Regions from separate parts of the Homo sapiens genome. Here region 1 is linked to region 2. Evidence: promoter capture Hi-C in human tissues and cell types (Jung and others, 2019). All regions are on one chromosome and are shown on one strand. Each heading gives the region's core, a stretch centred on a gene start or on the middle of the fragment in contact. The rest is flanking DNA. Distances are from core to core; before and after follow the strand shown.

The links. The method cuts DNA at HindIII sites, captures the fragments that hold promoters and counts their contacts. A contact is called where the count stands out against the background at its distance.
Region 1: a fragment that was not itself captured here is called in contact with the fragment with the promoter of CRABP1 in region 2 in 1 of the 25 tissues and cell types used here (adrenal gland).

The regions. Positions count from the first base shown.
Region 1 is chr15:78,287,464-78,293,889 of GRCh38, forward strand. SKIC8 (SKI8 subunit of superkiller complex) reads right to left here. Exons shown (of 11, transcript NM_025234.3): 4 at 5,704-5,809; 5 at 5,153-5,325; 6 at 2,488-2,636; 7 at 2,156-2,249; 8 at 826-919. Among named protein-coding and RNA genes, the nearest start is that of SKIC8, 8.9 kb to the right of the region's middle. RefSeq lists a silencer at 661-905. The HindIII fragment of the contact is 3,347 bases long and covers 991-4,337 here.
Region 2 is chr15:78,336,475-78,342,706 of GRCh38, forward strand. It overlaps CRABP1 (cellular retinoic acid binding protein 1), which reads left to right and starts at 3,879. Exons shown (of 4, transcript NM_004378.3): 1 at 3,879-4,024; 2 at 4,569-4,747. The coding sequence starts at 3,955. RefSeq lists an enhancer at 3,429-4,057. The HindIII fragment of the contact is 13,960 bases long and covers 1-6,232 here.

The DNA of each region.
Region 1 (6,426 bases), core at 1,414-3,913, 50 kb before region 2:
CCCTGAAAGGACACACATGGATGGTCAGGGTTGCAGTACATGCAGGTGGAGGAGGTCTTGGCACCCATGGCTAAGGTTGGAGTGTGATATGTACATGCAGTGGATTAGAATGCCATGTTCGGGAGCAATGAGCCAGAGGCATGCCTGGCAGTGAGAGCTGACCATAGCACCGAGTCATAGTATCAAGAACACAGATCCAACACATTACAGGGGATACCTCAGTGGGGAATAGGAGTCAGGACTAAAAATGATGGGGGAAAAGAAGAAGACATAGGGGTCCGCACAGATTTACAATGACGGCTGTGAATGAAAGAGGATGATTAACTTGCTTCTATACTCGCAGTCAAGGGCCAAAACCAAAAACGCTCCCATCTAGGCCTGTAGCAGGGCGGCTTATAAACTGACTGCTCCCTAACTAGGGCAGAGGCATGTCTGCTAGAACAGCCCTACCCTTGAAAATGGATGCTCTAATTTCTTCCTGTCCCCAGGGGCCAGCTACAGCCCATGGCTCCATTTCCTCATCTGTATATTACTTACCTATCCCAAAGAATTTGAAATCAGTAAGCTCACAAAAATCAGGCTGCCTGAGAAAAAGTAGCAAGTATCTGATCCTACCAGGGAACCCATGCACATCCTCCTCCAAGCAGCCCTTGAGGACACACACTAAAAATGGGCGCTGAACGGGGGAGGACCGCCTGGGGAGTCAAGGTGTCTGATGTGACTTGAGCACAGGTCTTTACTAGGGCTCCTCCCTAGGGCTCCTTGTAACAATAAAGGGACAAGATGGGCATCAGTAGTAAGGGAGATGCCTTTAAGGTAACTTACACATCATAGATCTTGATGTAGCCATCATCTGAAGCAGTGACAAGGAGCTGGGAGTCCGGGGAAAAGGTCAAGGAGCGAATGGGCATGGCATGGCCTGAAATTCATAAAGGCCCTTGTTAATCTGGTGAACCACTGCCTCCTCACTCAGCTTCCCACTGACAATGCCCCTTTTAATGATTATGAGCCACTGAGTTGAAATGCTCAGGTGCTTCAGGCAGAAAAGCAAGAGTTCTGATTGGGCCTTTCCTCTTAATGTTCTCAAAACATCCACATAACCCCAGTATCTCCTCCCAGAGCCATTTCTCCTTAGTTCCCTTCCCTGCCCTCAGCATACATTGCTTTAAATAACTTTTCTACTACAAATATGGCCACACAAGGATATATACATTGCTCCTGATTTGTAAGGTTGAACAAATTAAGGTATTATTTCCCTATCAAATCCTTTATTATAGTATAAAGGATAAACTATAGCAATGTGAGGACGTAATAAATTCACTTGATTAGAATTCAAAACAGCACAACAGTACGCATAATAAAGTCTCCCTCCAACCTACCCCTGTTCTTTAGCTACCCAGTCCTCCTTTCCAGAGGCCACCGGTGTGGACAGTGGGCACAATACTTTCATCCACCTTCAAATTATCAACAAAAAGTTGTTTCCAATCACAAAGTTCATCAGAATCCAAAATAACAGAAATGAGACATTCATATAGCAAATATATATTAACACACACATACATAATGTGATAGATTACGATATAATAAATAAAAAGTAAGTCTGTTCACCCAAACAAGCACTTAACACTGTTACAAGAACTAGTATGTCTAGGTTAAATCTATAGTGACAGGCCAGGTATGGTGGCTCATGTCTGTAATCCCAGCACTTTGGGAGGCCAAAGCAGGAAGAAATCTTGAAGCCAGGAGTTAGAGACCAGTCTGGGAAACAGCAAGACCCCATCTCCTCAAAAATTTTAAAAACTAGCCAGACATCGTGGTGTGCACCTGTAGTCCCAGCTACCCAGGAGGCTGAGGTGGGACGATCCCTTGAGCCCAGGAGTTCAAGGTTACAGTGAGCTATGATCACACCACTGCACTCCAGCCTGGGAGCGAGACCCTGTCTCTAAAAGAAAACAAACAAACAAACAAAAAAACAAAAAAACAAAAAAAACTATAGTGACAAGACTAAAACCTGGAGGCATTTCAGTTTTCCAATTGAGATTGATATTTTGTAAATCTAATGCCCATTTGCCATTTAATGGCATTTCAATGAAAGAATAATTCTTCCTTTGTGATTTGATAACCCAGTTTGTCAAAATAAGATGATGATATATACCTTCCAGGGTATGCAGAAGTTTTCCAGTTGCAATATCAAAAATATTGATGATTCCATCTATGGCTCCACTGGCTAGGTATTTCCCATCAGGACTCTGTTCAGAGAACATATGGAGAAATTAGCACTTTCAGACTCCGTGTTGTTAAGCTGTCCCTACCAAACACAAGCAAACCTCCTGCTATCTACAGGTCTAACTGGCTACTTGGCAAACCACACCAGTGAGACAGCAGCTGCCTGACCAGACCAAGACAGAATCTGTGGCAAGGACTGCAACAGGCTGGAAGGGTAAACTGAAAGAATCAGAAGGAGAACAGAGAGCAATGTTTCCTTACATATGCAATACTAAGAATGAATTTTCCTCTCGTGTCCAAAGAATATTCCTTTTTCCCACTTTCCACACCAAAAATGTTCACTTTCCCGACATGAGTTCCTGTGGCCAGATACTGGGAATCAGGAGAAAAGGCCAAAGTCCAGGCATCCACTGAACAGAAAAAAGAAGGACAAAAATACAGTGTGAAAAGACTTGGCCTTAATTTTAAAAACTAAAGTTTTACCAAAGGATACATCTTTTTAAATCGGAGTAGCAGTGTCCTGATTCAGAAAATTATGTTGTAAAGATGCTAATTCTTTATCAAGTTTAAATTTAGTTTAAGGGTTTCTTAAATTTTTAATTAAAATAGGACAATATCAAGTGTTAGCAAGGATGTGGAGAAACCAGAGCCTTCATACACTGGTGGGAATGTAAAACGGCACAGCCACTTTGAAAACCAGTTTGACAGTTTCTTAAGTGAAAACAAACACTTACCATGATACTCAGCAATTCTACTCCTAATGAAAACATATGTCCACACAAAGACTGGTACACTCATGGTCTTCGCTTCCTCCTACTTCCTTACTTCTCCACGACTGGGGATTGTCTCTCTTCTCTTTTTCTCTTCCTGTGTGGTGGTTCAGATTCTCCATGCATATTTTCAAGATAGGTAGAAACTAAGTGTCTATTTTCCCTACATTCATTAGACCCAAATTCATCCAAGGAGTTTTACCTTCAGATGAATTTAGCTGCTCTTTAGCTGTCAATAGCAATGCTTGCTTTTGTTACTGGACCAAATAACTGTTGGCTGTTTAATGGCCTGGTCTAGTTTTATGCAGAGTCCTATCCAAAAAGAAAATAAATCCAACTCTCAGACCCCATTCTTCCTTTTTTTTTTTGAGATTGAGTCTTGCTCTGTCACCTAGGCTGGAGTACGGTGGCATAATCTCGAGTTCAAGCTATTCTCTTGCCTCAGCTTCCTGAGTAGCTGGGACTACAGGTGCACACAACCATGTCCAGCTAATTTTTTGTATTTTTTAGTAGAGACAGGGTTTCACCATATTGGTCAGGCTGATCTTGAATTCCTGACCTCAAGTAATCCACCCGCCTCAGCCCCACAAAGTGTTGGGATTACAGGTGTGAGCCACCACACCTGGCCTCTTCTTTTTCTTTCATAACAGTAACCTTTAAAACTTTGCCACACTTGGAGAATATCCAGTAAAAGGTACTGTTTATCAGAGAAAGTGAGCTAGATACATACGCCATCCTTTTACTTGGAACCAATCCAGCACTGATTTCTTCAGCTGCCTTGTGCCCAGGGCTACAACCAGCATGGAATAACACCAGCATTATGAGCCCAGGGAAAGCTTAGGCGCCCAAGATGAAAAGGTAGAAACAGTTCTGTCTCTTCCTCTTTTCTTAAGACCATGCTTATATATTGGAGTCTTAATAGACTTTGCAGGATAGTTTGGGGACCCAAGTCCTCTGTAAGTAATGTAAGCAGGGTAAGGGTACATGTAAAGACAACCATCAGGGGAGTCAGGGTGCGTCTGGGTAGCTTTTTCCAAATACATATCCCACCCCACGTACTCTGAACACTATGATTCAGTGGATCCAAAATATGGACTGGGCAGGCATATTCTTAAAAGAGCTCCAGTGGTAAGAATTACAGACAAGAAATATTGCTTCTGAGGGAAAATGCACTCAGTTTCCAGACAACCCAGCCTCTTTAAAAACTCTGGGACCATCATTCTTTCCAATACAGGAACAGCCTAGAGTGGCTACTGAGCATAACTGGCGGGAGGCGAATCCATCCAGGGCACCAATCAAGGGAACTGTGTTCATGGAACACCTAAGCAGCTCTTCTATCATCAACCCAAAAAGGGGTGTGCCAGAGAAATGCCAGGCTATCTGCACCCTCTAGCAGTTACCACCCATTCTGGCAGAGCAGGTTCTGCTGGGGAATGTTGTGCAGCCATTTATAAGTAAATGTGAAGTTCAAAAGAATCCTGAAATGTCCTCTGCTGCTCCACATTAGTCAGCCTATGACATCATTAATTTCTGTCATCTCAGATGATGTTTACTGAGGCTGATGGACAAGATTATGCTGTTCTACAGTACTTAAAACAAAAAAAATTGATGTTTCTTAAAAGTTTCATATGTATCACATACCAAGAATCACACCCTTTAATCAAAATTAGTAGAGATGACCATGATACAGATCTATAAGGACCCCATGCTTTACATTCTAGGTTTCCGTAAGGCAGTGAATGAATCAGTTCAGAATATGGCAAATAAAGAACCTCTGGAAAATGCAAAATACAGGTCAACGCCAAACCAGCAGTTTTGAAATCCAAAAAGCTCTGGAAACTACAAGCTTTTTCTACAGGTTTACTACCAAAATTCATTTGGCAGCAAAATCTAACCTGAATTGACATAAGGCTATTTATAGCCTTTATTTATCTCCCTTAGTGTAAACATTCATGTTTACTTGCAGAGGTATTAGTCTTTCATTACAGTGCTGTTTCCAGCCCCACTGAGGGTATTATGTGAAATACAGTTCATGCACACATTATCACCCCTCTCAAATCCAAAAAATTCTGAGCTGTAAAACACATTCTATCCCTAAAGATTTTGGAAAAGAAATCATGAACCTCTATTATCTCCCCTACAAGTAAAACTCTTACCAGGTCCTGCATCTATGGACTTTATCTGTTTGCCATTTTCCAAGTCCCAAAGACGAATATGAGCATCAAGAGAGCTGGATGCAGCAATGGGCAGGGTGTGGCTGATGTCCACAGACACCACTCCCAGCTGATGTCCCTCCAGACTCCACTGTAGGTCCAGCCTCTCATCACGCCTTCAACAGGGGACAGAGAAATGGATTTCTTCACAAAGAACACACTTTACCTGGCATCTGAAATTCTGGGTCCCTGTGACTATGCAATACCAATGGTCTATGAAATACAGAATCAGAGAAGAGTTAATGAGCTACAGAACACCAAATGCTGCCAGGTTTTAAATGTAGGACTTTAAGATTTTTTTTTTTTAACTTTAGGGCTTTAATACAGAGTAACAGGAAAACAAGTGGGAAAAATAAGCTGCTGTTTTATACCACCATATTGCTATTGCTTTCTTGCCTAGAAAAAAGTATTTCCCGGACTGCAACTGGAGAGTTCAGAAGCAAAACCTCAGCCCCCAATTTTCCAAGGCTGTATGTTAGGGGAGAGGCACTCACCATTTCCAGACCTTCACCAGGTCATCTAGGGAGCCTGTGACCACTGTCTCAGAGTTTTCCTTCTTGTTTGTCCCCCAAGCAACTGACCAAATGGCATCATCATGGGCTAGAATGGAAAGTGCTTCATTTATAAAGTCTTCTTGCATACGACTTAATGAAGCCGAGATACTGTTCAACAATTGTGAGGTAACATTTATTTGTATTTGCTTTACTATTTTACAAAGTGCTTTCCTATACAGCTTTTATTGAAATTTTGGGGCCACATATGAAAATTGGAGGTTCTGAAGAAGCTACTTGCCCTAAATCTCATGTTTACCAGGCGACAAGGTAGTACTTCGGACTCTAAATCCAGTGTCCTTTCTTTTAGCATGCTATCTGGTATATAGGAGTCTACAATGGCTATCACTTGGCTAAAAACAAGTAAAACCAGTGGGGAAGACCCCCTCCTACCAAGAAAAGGCCTAAACCCGGTAACAGATACTCCGAAAAGATCTTTCGAAACAAGCAGGCAGTTCAATTCTAAACAGTATAGATCTAAAAGAAAATACCTACTATAGCCTCCATATATTAAGTTGCCTTTCCCCACAAGTATCTTTATTATGGTTAATGGGCCAATTATTACATTACAACAATCCTATGAAGTGGGTACTATTAATATCCTCATTTTATAGACAAGGAATGAGAGGTGCTAGGATTCAAATCCAATCTCTATTAATTAAAGTC
Region 2 (6,232 bases), core at 2,629-5,128:
TTCATGACCCTTTGTCCTTAGGAGAGTGCCTTCAGCTCATCTCTTGTCTTACCTCCTACCTTGCTCCCTTCAAGGTATGCACTCCAGCCAGGCCAAAAGATATGTGGTTCCCAAACACATAACCCTGTCCCTGCACGTGTTGTTCTTCTGACTGTACTCCCTCACTCTCACAGCCCCTCTGGATCCACTCCTAAGGTTCAACCCAGGCTGGGCTCAGTACCTGCCCCTCAGGCACTATTAGCCCGTGTGGTGATCACAGAGTTTCTAGGTTATTTCCTCCTGTGTAAACAGTGAACCTTCAAGACAGGACCTGGATCTTGAGTGGTCACTATCCTCAGAGGTGCACCCAGTTCCTGGCTCACAGAGATGGTCAGCAAAGGTTAGCGAATGGAAGGGTAAAAGAAGAGAAGGAGAGAAGACAGGGAGGTCAGAGCATTTCAGGTGGTTCTGCCCATCTGTTTGAAGACCCGGGCCAAGAGCCGGGTCTCTGCCCAGCAGGGGGCCTGCTCTGGATCCACAGAAACACCACGATGGTGGTGGCTTTCTTTGTTTGTTTATTTGTTGGTTTGTTTGTTTCTTTTTGAGACGGAATCTCACTCTGTTGCCCAGGCTGGAGTGCAGTGGTGCGATCTCTGCTCACTACAACCTGGGACTCCTGGGTTCAAGTGATCCTCCTCACTCAGCTTCCTGAGTAGCTGGGACTACAGGGGCGCACCACCATGTTCGACTAATTTTGTATTTTTAGTAGAGATGGGTTTTCACCATGTTGGCCAGGCTGATCTCGAACTCCTGACCTCAGGTGATTCGCCTGCCTCAGCCTCCCTAAGTGCTGGGATTACAGGTGTGAGCCACCGTGCCCAGCCATGGTGGTGGTGTTTTTGTGGCCCTCTTGACTCTGGGGTTTCCCCAGTAGCCAGGAAGGTGATAGCAGCCTGCCCTCCCATTTCCATGTGCCACCTGATGAGATTTGGGTCTTCTGAGAAGTCCTGGCCCCTCCTGTCTGCTCTGGTCACCTCTAAACTTCCATTAACAAGGACAGCAGGCTGGGTGCTCATGCCTGTAATCCTAGCACTTTGGGAGGCTGAGGTGGACAAACTGGTTGAGCTCAGGAGTTCGAGACCATCCTGGGCAACATGGCAAACCCCTGTCTCTACTAAAAATACAAAAATTAGCCAGGCACGGTGGTGCATGCCTGTAATCCCAGCTACTTGGGAGGCTGAGGCAGGAGGATTGCTTGAGCCCGGGAGGCAAGGTTACAGTGACCCAAGATGGCACCAGGGCACTCCAGCACTGGCGACAGAGCCAGACCCTGTCTTAAAAACAAGGAGAGTGGGCTCACAAGGACTCTGGGATCATCTTCCACTCTATGGCTGAACTGGCTGTGCCCTCCTCACTCCTGGACCCTGCTCCCGCCCTTGTTTTGTGCCTGCAGAACGACACCACTGTCCTGTCCCAGTATGGCCAACTTTTGGAGTGGACACCTTCATCTGGCCCCTCTTGCCCCATTCTCTCTCTGACTCCCTCCCTCACCTTCTTCTTTCCCTCTTCCCTCTTTGTCCATCCAATGCCTTTGCTGCAAGAGCTCTCTGTCACCTTTGTGCCTCATCCACGGCCCTCTGACTATCCTCACAAGGTCTCTCTGGGCTGTAAACTAGGATGCTGCTCCAACATTGCTGCCCTCCTCCAGCCTCCTGCCCCAGTCCCTCCCCAGCCCTGCCCTTTAGATGGCTGAAGCCTTCTTAGGGAAGAGTGTTGGATGGGGGCAGAGGCCTGCATTAGCTGGATGGCACTCCTGTTTTGCCCCTTCACTGGAGAGGCACTCAACCCTCTGTGAAGTGGGTTTGATTCTATGGCAGCTCCATCCCTTGCCTCCCACATCCAGGACCTGCTACTTAATTTGCAGATCCCAGTGCAAAATAAAAATTCAGGACTCCTTGTTCAAAAAGTATTATGGGGCCAGGCACGGTGGCTCATGCCTGTAATCCCAGCACTTTGGGAGGCCGAGGAGGGCGGATCACGAGGTCAGGAGATCGAGACTATCCTGGCTAACACAGTGAAACCCTGTCTCTACTAAAAATACAAAAAATTAGCTGGGCATAGTAGCACACACCTGTAGTCCCAGCTACTTGGGAGGCTGAGCCAGGAGAATCATTTAAACCCAGGAGGCAGAGGTTGCAGTGAGCCAAGATTGCGCCACTGCACTCCAGCTCGGGCAACAGAGCGAGACTCTGTCTCAAAACAAACAAACAAACAAAAAGTATTCTGACGTTCAAGCTGGCAATAGCAGAGCATTCCTGCTTTTCCATTTTCCAATCTAACTATCAGGCCCTTCTAAGTGCATGGCCCTGTGTGACTGCACAGACGGCACGTCCAGAATGCCGGCCCTGCCCATGCCCCTTTCCAGCTGGTGATGGCCCCACTCCCCTCTCCTGTCCTCAGCTGCTTTCTTAGACAGATCCTCGGAGCCTCCTGGCAGCAACCCAGCCCCAGCCACCTCCAGAAGTTTCCAGGGCCCTGTTCAGTAGGCACTCAGCACAGATTCCCCAAGGTCCTGGGGGAATCTTCACCCCAGGCCACCACTCACATCCTCCTCAAATCAATGCACAGTTATCGAGCCCCACCTGGCTAAGCCTTAGGAAGGGAGGACAAGTGGATAAACGATCACTGCCCTCCAGGAGTTCAGTTTATAGCAGAGCGAAGACTTGAACAAGAGCAGGACCGGACAAGAATCCTGTCAATTCAGAGAAAAATAATCACAGTTTATTAGGAAACTGAATTTCACAAAAGAGAGAGCATAAAGATGGGCTTTCGTGAATGGGCAAGATTTGATTAACCCGATGAGGAAAGGGGCATTCAAGGAAGAAGCCATGGCATGGGCAAAAACTTAGAGATAATAAAATGCATGGCACGTTCTAGAATCCTGAATTGTACAGTTTGGCTGAGGTGTGCAGATGGTAAAATAGTGGGAAAAAGCTGGAAGGAAAATGTACAGAGAAGAGCTACAAGGGTAATAGTGAAGTGTTTGTACTCCCTTAGTGGAAACACCGAGGGGACTTTAGGTCGTGATGTTTAGGTTATTTGGGAGCAAAGGGAGAAGACTTCCTCCCCTTGGCCCTCACAGCCTGCCCGAAGAGTGCAAAGCCTCACGCTTTTGCAAAACAGGCCGCACCTAGCCCAGATTCTGGAGCTGATTCAGTCCATGCCTCTCGACCCACAGTTTGTCCTGAGCCCTGACAAAGGTCTGGCCCCCTCCTGCACTCGGAACGCGGAGGACCCGCAGCTCGTGGATTCGCGCCTCAGTGCCCAAGCTGGTGTTGATGGGGGTTGCGGTTTCCTGCCACTCACTCCCCATGGGTCCTGTGGGGGGCGTGGGGATGCGGGGAGAGGGTTTCAGAATAGGATCCCGGACTGGGAGGGAAGGGACACCATCTGGGCACACCCAGTAGGTACGACCGGAGGTGAAAAAAGAGTGGGTCCCATCCCCTGATGGCCCCGCTCGCTATCCACTTTAAGTTTATGTTATGGATATTTTCAAACATATTCAAAAGTAGAGAGAAAAGTAGAATCATAACCCAAGTCCACACCGCCCAGCTTCAACAGTTATCCCCTCCAAGCCCATCTTGTTTCAGCTAACCCTCTCCCACCACCCATTTTAAAGCGGGATGTGGGTGTCCTGAGGGAGGTGGAGGCTCCCCAGTTGGAGAGCGGGTGCCCGCACCTCTGGAGGCTGAGGCACAACTGGGCTGGGAGTTGAGCGCATACCGAGTAGGGGCTGCGGGGGAGCGGGGGCAGGGCCGGCGGGGCGGGGCCAGAAGCCCGGCGGGGTTGGGGGCGCTCTCCTAGTGACTCAAGGCGCGCAGCGCTGGGCGCAAAGCGCCAGTCTCCGCCTTGCGAGCTCAGAGTGTGCCCGCTGCGCCGCCGCTGTCCGTACCTGCCGCCGCCGCCACCGCCACCATGCCCAACTTCGCCGGCACCTGGAAGATGCGCAGCAGCGAGAATTTCGACGAGCTGCTCAAGGCACTGGGTAAGCTGGTGCAGAGGGCGCGCCCCGACGGGGAGATGCGGCCCGGAGGTGCCCTGGTCCCGGAAGTGCCCCGGTCCTGGAGGGGGTGGAAGTTGGGGAGCCCAGGCAGGAGGGAGTCCCCGGGGCAATAGATCGCCTTGTCTCCCAGGCGCACCGGGTCTCGGAGAAGCTGGTAGAGATCCCGGAACCCACGCGTTCAGCGAACGTTTGCTGAATGTTTGGCGCCCTCCTCGATGGTGCGGACTTTATCTCGTGCTAGATCATAGCGAGGAGAGATTACTGGAGAGCAAGGAGGATCAGGGACTTAAATTTGGAGACTCAAATTTGGGACCAGGCTCTGCCACGAATTCACTGTGCAACTCGAGGAAAGTCACTTACCCTCTCTGTGCCTCAGTCTCTCATCTCGAAAACAAGGGCGAGGGCAGGGAAACGAGTGGATCAATTTTAAGGCCCCTTTCTAAAGTTAGGGTATGACCAGTGCCCGACCGGTCCCGAGACTGGCGGCGAGGCCCCGTGACCCAAGCCTGTGGTGCACCCTGCGCAGGTGTGAACGCCATGCTGAGGAAAGTGGCCGTAGCGGCTGCGTCCAAGCCGCACGTGGAGATCCGCCAGGACGGGGATCAGTTCTACATCAAGACATCCACCACGGTGCGCACCACTGAGATCAACTTCAAGGTCGGAGAAGGCTTTGAGGAGGAGACCGTGGACGGACGCAAGTGCAGGGTGAGGCCCCAGAGCCACTACAGCGTCCCCGTGTCCCCGCTCGGTGCCCATGGCCCACTGCTGCTGGAGGAACCTGTGTCTCCCTTTGCAGCCTGTGGCGCGCCTTCCTTGCAGGGTGTGTACACTGGCTGTTTGCAGAGGGGGTTTGTGCATCCTAGTTGCCCCTGGCTCAAGACAAAGTATTACCTTCATTCCATCTCAACCCCATCCCTACGCTGCCTCCCGGGGTGCTAACAGCCGCGCTTAAAGAGCGGGCTCTGGGTTGCGCCGCGTTCCCAGCAGTGGCTTTTGCAGCGGTTTGCAGCGCCAAGCGCAGGCGGCGCAGGAGGAGGAGGAGGTTGCAGGAGCCGCCAGGTTCTCTGTCGCAGGTGAAGCCGCAGCTCTTGCATTCCTTTCCCGCCGTATCCCCCGCGCCCGCCCGGGTCCCTGGGCCGCCTGGGTACGCTCTGGATACAGTTTTAGCAGTCCCGATGGCCCCGTCACCTCTCCCTTCCCGCCTTCGGCCTGGTTCCTTAAAGGAACGGCGGAGTCTTTCCAAAAGCAAGGCAGGTTCTGGCTGGGAAAATGGACTAGTTGCCCTCTCTTAGTCCTCAAGGGCAAGAGTTTTTTTTTATTTCTCCATGCATCGGCCCAGGGATGAACCGGTGGATTGAAGCAAGGGGTTGTACATTCGTTTTTTGCATGGGCAAAAATTGCATTTGGTTAACCAGATGGAAAAATAATCACCGGTGCTACCACTTATTTAAAAAGTGACAGAATGTCTCCCTCCCCTTCTCCAATTTTTTTTTTTTAAAGAAAAAAGTCGTAACATTCCAGAGAGTGGGAAATTGTTTCTTTCACCTTTCCTGAGCAGTGCCTGGTCTGATCTCGGAATGGGACTCTCTGAGCACCGGGCTTGGAAGGACAAAGAAACAAAGCCCCCCAGAAGCAGGCTGATCTAGGAGGCAATCTTTGGCTCCAGAATTGTCATAGCCTGGAAATGATCTCCACGCTTGGAGGGGGTGGGATCTGAAGCCTAAACTGCACTGCAGAAACAAAGAGCAGGACAGCATAGAGTGAAGGGCTGGGAGTCTAAGAGAGGAGGCTTGGCAATAGGCAGGGCTCAGTCTGGGGACATCCAATGTTGGCTACTGCCAGGAAGGGTAATTCTGATTTAAAAAAAAAAAATTAAAGGTTCACACAACAGCCGGGAGAGTGGGGCTTTATGCACCCCCCATCCCCCCACACCTTGCCTAATGAATGTGTCCCATGTGTTAGTTAAAAACTGATTATGTGCACATTCAGCTCTGGCCCACCCCCCAGCCCAGCTGTACCACACTTAGCTTTGTGCAGACACTGGGGAAAAACTTCAGGAAATCCCTCCTTTTGCCTCCCACCTCCAAAAGCATGAAGAGCCTTCAGATTGATTTGCTTTTTAAATTTTTTCTAAAGGGATGTAACCGGGAAAGTGGCAGCATTTTAACCCTCAGAGCCAAAGACACCGAG